2 separate regions of the Homo sapiens genome follow, and region 2 is linked to region 1. The links are contacts of gene promoters, found by promoter capture Hi-C in human tissues and cell types (Jung and others, 2019). All regions are on one chromosome and are shown on one strand. The core of a region is centred on a gene start or on the middle of the fragment in contact, and the rest is flanking DNA. Distances in the headings are between cores, read along the strand shown.

What was found. The method cuts DNA at HindIII sites, captures the fragments that hold promoters and counts their contacts. A contact is called where the count stands out against the background at its distance.
Region 2: a contact is called between a fragment that was not itself captured here and the fragment with the promoter of PSMD12 in region 1, in 1 of the 25 tissues and cell types used here (aorta).

What each region holds. Positions count from the first base shown.
Region 1 is chr17:67,364,864-67,368,414 of GRCh38, forward strand. PSMD12 (proteasome 26S subunit, non-ATPase 12) reads right to left here and starts at 1,714. Exons shown (of 11, transcript NM_002816.5): 1 at 1,549-1,714. The coding sequence starts at 1,656. RefSeq lists enhancers at 1,530-1,589, 1,610-1,919. The HindIII fragment of the contact is 13,722 bases long and covers 1-3,551 here.
Region 2 is chr17:67,001,991-67,005,541 of GRCh38, forward strand. All of the region lies in intron 1 of CACNG4 (calcium voltage-gated channel auxiliary subunit gamma 4), which reads left to right. Among named protein-coding and RNA genes, the nearest start is that of CACNG4, 39 kb to the left of the region's middle. The HindIII fragment of the contact is 4,892 bases long and covers 1-3,551 here.

The DNA.
Region 1 (3,551 bases), core at 464-2,963:
TCCTTTTCCTGGGCAGGTGCTCGAAAGTTCAGGTTTTTGGCCAGCCGCGGTGGCTCACGCCTGTAATCCCAGCACTTTGGCAGGCAGAGGTGGGTGGATCACTTTAGGTCAGGAGGTCGCGTGCGACCAGCCTGGCCAACGTAGTGAAACCCCGTCTCTACTAAAAGTACAAAAATTAGCCGGGCGTGGTGGCACCTGTAGTCCTAGCTACTCGGGAGGCGGAGGCAGGAGAATCGTTTGAACCCGGGAGGCGGGGGTTGCAGTCAGCCAAGATTGCGCCACTGCACTCCATCCTGGGTGAAAAAAGTGAAACTCCGTCTCAAAAAAAAAAAAAAAAAAAGTTCAGGTTTTCACTACAATAGGCTTCTAGGCAGGACAGCATGGTGTGTGAGGGCACCAGCTCCAGAATCTAGAATCGGTCTGCCTGGGTTTGCTTCTTGGCTTCACCACTTTACTAGCTGTATGATCTTGGGGCATGTGATTCAACTTTTTCTAGCCCAAGTTTTCTTACCTGTAAAATAAGGATAATAGTAATAGCCATCGCATAGGGCTGAGGTGAGGATCAAATGGCTTAGTGCATGTAAGCACGGTGCCTGACACTGCAGAAACTACTCAACAAATATCAGTTATTGTTATCTGTCTGGCATTGGAGGCGGCTGAGTTTTCCCACCCTTATGTAACTGATGTTTGTTGATGCTAGCTGCTAGAAAGCTCTTAATGAATTTGTGGCTCCCCCTCAGCAAGCATACTGAACCTAAGATATACATACGTACCAACTTTATCACCTTTCTCCATCCTTGTTTCTTGGAAAGCCCGTTAAACTCTTATAGTGCCTACTTGTCTTTACTTCTGTAGTTCCGTCTTCAGTAATGACTCCACCCCACCTCAATCTTACTAATTCCTCAAGACCCAATACAAACGTCAGCCTTCCTGTAAAACCTTCCCTTATGGCACCATTAAGAATGCATAGCTTCCTTCTCGGTGTTCCAGTAACACTTTCCCCTTGTATGGCCCTCACCACCATGCATGACTTGACTAATTCATCACGTACATCAACTCCTAAAGGACAGGGTCCTGTGTTAGTCATCTTCGTACTATCACTTTCCTGCCCCTTCTCCTGGCCAAAGACCAGGCACATAGCCATGATCCACAAACGATGTAACGACATAAATTGATTGAGCAACAGCAACAGAACGAAACTCTCTGATCTAGCCTTAATACTGAAGCGGCCTTAACCCCTGGGAAACTACTAAGGTAAATATCACTTAAACAGCATCCAAGAAACGGCAAAAAGTTAAACGGAGCCCTAAGTCCCACGGAGGGAAGTGACCATCTGTTTTGGGGAGGGTCTGGGAAGCTATAGGCGCTGGCGTACTCCGCAGCCCTGGCCGGGCCGACCTGGGGTCTCCCACTCGTGCAGGCCCAACTAGGGCTGGACAGGCATTGGGGGGTGCACGCTCCAGCCCGCAGGCCCCCTGAGGCCTAAGCAGGCTCCGCGCCGTGACTCAGCCCCTGGCGCCCGCCAACAGCCAGCCGGCCTCTCCTCACCTTGGCTAGCTTCGCACACTCGGGTAGGCGCTGATCCACCGTGGCGCTGTAGTCCACCTCCATCTTGACGATGCGCCCGTCAGCCCGCTCCGAGCCGCCGTCCGCCATGGTCCCCGCCTGAGCGTCCCTTGCTGTCCCCCTGCTTCGGCCACCACTCGTCACCCACACCGGAAGTTGCCCGCGCACCCGCTCAGGCAGCCCATCGGGAGCCCACGCAAAGGACCCCTCGAGGTCCCCGGCGCTGGTTGCCACTCAGGCACTGCCGCGGACAGCCTGGGGGTGGGGCTTGAGGCGCGCGGGGCGGGACTCGCCACTCCAGCCTGCAGCGTCAGGTTTTGTCTCTGGGAACATCAGACTTTTTACCTAAAATTTGCGATGAGAAAAGCGAGTGTAATAGAACAGACCATCTCATATATCCCTACACCCCTGCTTCGAAATATGATTTCTCAGGACCGTGGCCAGTCGCTTTTCTTGGATCTCGGTTTTCTCATCTCTACATCAGGAGGCTAAAATAAACCTTAAAATAGAAAATTCTAAGGTTTTATCTACTTGAGAATCTTGGTGGCTTACTCTGTGGGATCTCTGAAAGCTCCTAAGAGAAGATATGGCAGCAGCTCAGTCATTTAATAAGCAAAGTGGTTTTTCTCTTTGTTTTCATTTTCACTGTAATCCACTAAGTTGGTAAAAAGAAAAGTTAAAAAGACATATTTGTTATCCCTATAGGATTTTCGTGAGCATCAAACTAGATGACATGTGAGACAATTTCAATTCTTAAGGGCCTTACACGTTTTATGTGTTATCATTCATACCATGCTGGTCCCTAGAAAATAGCTTGAGATCTTAAAAAAGCTTAGGATCCTTGAAAATGGGAATGAGGCCGGGCGCGGTGGCTCACGCCTGTAATCCCAGCCCTTTGGGAGGCTGAGGCGGGCGGATCATGAGGTCAGGAGATCGAGACCATCGTGGCTAACACGGTGAAACCCCGTCTCTACTAAAAATACAAAAAATTAGCCGGGCGTGGTGGCGGGCACCTGTAGTCCCAACTACTCGGGAGGCTGAGGCAGGAGAATGGCGTGAACCCAGGAGGCGAAGCTTGCAGTGAGCCGGCGAGATTGCGCCACTGCACTCCAGCCTGGGCGACAGAGCAAGACTCCGTCTCAAAAAAAAAAAAAAAAAAGAAAAAGAAAAGTAAAGAAAATGGGAATGAGGTTGTGTTTGGTGTGGGCATATGGTCAACAGCAGCCTGGAAAGCAAACAGGAAAACGGGAAATCTTGGAGTGGTTTATCTATTATGTTAGTGGTTCTCAATTTAATTAGTGCCGACATCGCTTTATAGATGCTGAATAGATCTCTTTGTTTGTTTTAACTGCAATGAAAATCAGGGAAAATATAAACCATCTACAAGCAAAATAAGACAATATCTCAGCTATAATCTGTAATGTAGAGGAGAAACAAATTTTACCTTTTTTTTATTTTTGTAGAGATAGCAGCTATACTACGTAGCCCAGGCTGGTCTCAAACACCTGGCCTCAAGCAGTCCTCTCACCTTGGCCTCCTAAAGTGCTGAGATTACAGGTGTGAGCCACTGTGCCCAACCAAGAAACAAATTTTAAAATAGCAAAATAATATATATTTCAAGAGATAAGGGCTAAAACATGTCTACAGTGGAAAATACAAGGAAGTAGTTATTTACACCCATACACAATAACTATAAATGTAAAAGCTGCAACTGCAACAGGTGTGTTCTCTTGGTTCCTGAAGCATGGTAAGGGCCTATTGTTGGTGACATTTTCCAAAATGGTGAGCAACAAGCCACTTCTTGGTAAAGCTCTTATTGTTTTTTTTTTATTTTATAGTCCATCAGATGGGTCTTATGGCTCATGCCTATAATCCCAGCACTTCGGGATGCTGAGGTGGGTGGATCACTTGAGGCCAGTAGTTCAAGACCAGCCTGACCAACATGGCGAAACCCCGTCTGTACTAAAAATGCAAAAATTAGCCAG
Region 2 (3,551 bases), core at 378-2,877, 360 kb before region 1:
GTGCTGGCAAGTGATGGAGAATTCTAACCTGGTGCTCCAGACCACAGGTATGGGAGTGTATTCATCCATTTTCATACTGCTATGAAGAAATACCTGAGACTTGGCAATGTATAGAGAAAAAGAGGTTTAATGGACTCACAGTTCCACGTGGCTGGAGAGGCCTCATGATCATAGCAGAAGGCAAAGGAGGAACAAAGGCACGTCTTACATGGCAGCAGGCAAGAGAGCGTGTGCAGGGGAATTGCTCTTTATAAAACCATCAGATCTAATAGACTTATTCACTATCACGAGAACAGCATGGGAAAGACCCGCCCCCATGATTCAATTACTTCCCACTGGGTCCCTCCCATGAGATGTGGGGATTATGGGAGCTACAATTCAAGATGAGATTTGCGTGGGGACATAGCCAAACCATATCAGGGAGGTGGTGAGAGGGATCTTAAAAACTGGGTTGGAACTTGGTATCTGGCTGCCCTGGAAGAACTGTTCTCAGCCCTGGAGGTACTCCAGAAATGCATGTGTGCTCCCTCATCCTGGCCTGGTTGCCAGAAAGCACTGGTGACCTGGCAGACCTGGCAGGTGTGTGCCCTCCCAGACACTGGCTCTCTCCACCTCTCATCTCTCTCTTTCTCTCTCTCTCTCTCTCTCTCTCTCTCCATCCTCAAATAGAATAGGGAGGCAGGGAATCATAGCAGTGACAGCACTAGTTGTAGGATCAGACAGAAGCAGGTGAGAGAATCCTGGCTGTGCTACCTTGGGCAAGTTACTTGCCCTCTCTGAACCTTGGCTTTCTCATCTGTAAAATGGGTGTATAGAAGCTCCCCCTTCATAAGTTGTTTTTGAAGCTTAATGAGTAAATGGAAAGAGCTTAGCACATGCTTTGCAGGGAATATAGTTTTCAACCAAAGCCAACACTTATTAGTCCATTAGTCATGAGGCTCAGGGAAAAACAGGGTTACTTTGCTGGGCCTTCTAAGAGTCAGGGGAGCTCTGCTTCTTTTGGAAGACACAGTATTATGGGTATATGTGGACAAGGAAGAGTCTGTGTCAGTCCTGATAGGGGGCAAACCTGGCCTGCTCACTTCTGACAATAAGACCAGCTGACTCTTTGTTATTAGAACAGGGCTGATTATAACAACAGCAAACATGTTTTAAGTACATACCATGGGACAGGCACAGTGACATTTAAAAAATGCATACAATTGTTTAATCCCCCAAATCACCCTCGGTTTATCCCCATTTGTGATCCCCATTTCACAGATGGGAAAAATGAGGCACAGAGAAGTGAATTAGGACCCCAGATCATACAGCTAATAGGTGGTAACAAAGCCAGAACTCAAACCCAAGCAGAATGACTTCAGAACGTACTGTCTCTATGCTATCCAGCCAAAGGATGATCGATAGGTATTTTATCAACTAGTAGCTCCTGAATGGAGCACTGTGTTGAGGATTCAGACTGTGATCAGGGGAGAAAAGTACTGTGATTGATTAGTAATGTCTGCCATGGGCTGAGAAGGGGAAGACTCAGTTCTGTGCAGGACATTTATTCATCACCAACCACTGCACTATTGACATTTGGAGCTAAATCATTATTTGTTGGGGCAGGGTAGGGAGTCATCCTGTGCATTGTAGAATGTTTAGCACATCCCTGGTCACGTGTTGCCAGTAGCACTTCGCCCTGCAACCCCAAGTTGTGACAATCACAACTGTCTCCAGCCTTTGTCAAATGTCACCTGGGAGGCAAAATCACCCCCTGTAGAGAACCTTGCACTAGAGCAGGCAATGGACAGGGGGTAACAGAGCTCTAAACTTGAAGTCAGGTGACCAACAGTCAAAGCTTGGCTATGCCACCAATCAGCTTATCACCATGGAAATGGCCCTTCACCTCTCCAGGCAGCAAATTCTTAATATGTGAAGTGAGTGGGGTGAAGTGGATGATCCCAAGGGTCCCTTCTAGAAGTTTATGATTATCTACTATGATGCTCCCTCTCTTGCCCAGCCCCTTCAATTAAAACTCTCAGGTTATTGGAGCATAACTTCCCAGAGATCTGCAGAGGCAAACCAACGGAAAAGCTGAAATCTGCAGAGAGCTGTTTCGCCCTTTACAGCTCCCTAGTTGTTCCTCATTAAAAAAGAAAGAAAGAAATGAAGAAAGAAACAACAACAACAACAACCCTTAGTACTGAGGTTTCATCCAAGCAGCAGTTATCCAGTAGATGCAAGGAGAAAAATCACAGAGACAATAACTGAATACCCATTCCCCTGTGTTAGGAGAGAAAAGGAGCGGTTGGTTGGGGAAATCTCTCCGGCTCCGTTTAATTATGAATCTCGGCAGGAAGCCTGGAAAATCCTGGCCCTCTCTGGAACAAAGTGTTGGAGGAGGCGTGAGGCTGGTGCTGTGGGTTCTTGAAGAACTCGCTGAGCCAGATGAGACCTCAGATGAGCACCAGCCACAAGCTTCCACGCAGCGTGGGGCTGGTGCTCAGCATCCTCATCCCCGATACAACATCCTTCCTTTCCCTGGAGCCCTGTGGTCTCCAGGGAACCCATGCTTATTTTCGTGTCTTAGAAAGTGTTGCAGACCTGCGCTGAGACATGGAGTAGAGCCTGGGCTTTGGAGCCCTGGAAAAACAGGTTGGAATCTCCCTCCCCCAGTGAAGGTACAGCTGGTTGGGGGTTAGAGTTCTGCCGGTTGCAAGCACATAAACCAACTTCTCTGACTTGATCCACAAAGAGGACTTTCTTTTTTTAAGACAGGGTCTCAGTCCTGTCACCTAGGCTGGAGTGCAGTGGTATGATCTCAGCTCACTACAGCCTCGACTTCCCAGGCTCAGTTGATTCTCCCACCTCAACCTCCCACATAGCTGGGACTATAAGCGTGCACCACCATGCCCAGCTAATTTGTGTACTTTTAGTAGAGACAAGGTCTTGCCGTGTTGTCCGAGCTGGTCTCAAACTCCTGGGCTCAAGCAATCCGCCCACTTCAGCCTCCCAAAGTGCTGGGATTACAGTTGTGAGGCACCCTGCCCCGTCCCAAAGAGGAATGTATCGGAAGGATGTGGAAGCGTCCCAAAGGATGGAAGGGAGAGCTTAACAGCCAAGATGAAGGAAGGAAAGAGGCAGGAGCCTCCATATCTGGCATCCTGGACCACTCAAGAACACCATTTTAAAAACTCCCAAAAGTCCCTTAGTCCATGGGTCTCCTCTGTCTCTGATCCAAAATATACACTTCCAAGAGAACCTCTGATTGGTCCAGCTTGGGCCAGAGGTCTGCCCAGGAGCCTTGGCTGGGGGCAGGGCCATGTCATGCAGGGCCATGGGGGAAGTTCTGTGTGAAGGACTCATTCCCAGAGAAAGGGGCTCCCCAGTGGTACACCCCTGAGGACCATCAGAACCTCAGTATGGGTGTAGTGCAAGGCAGACGGCCCACTCCCTCTCCACCCACCTTCTGCCCCTCTGAATCACTGCACAGGTGCTCACAACACAAGATTCTTAGAGTCTAGGACCCAGAGTGATGTCTCCGCTTACCACACGAGCTTTGATCTCCAGGT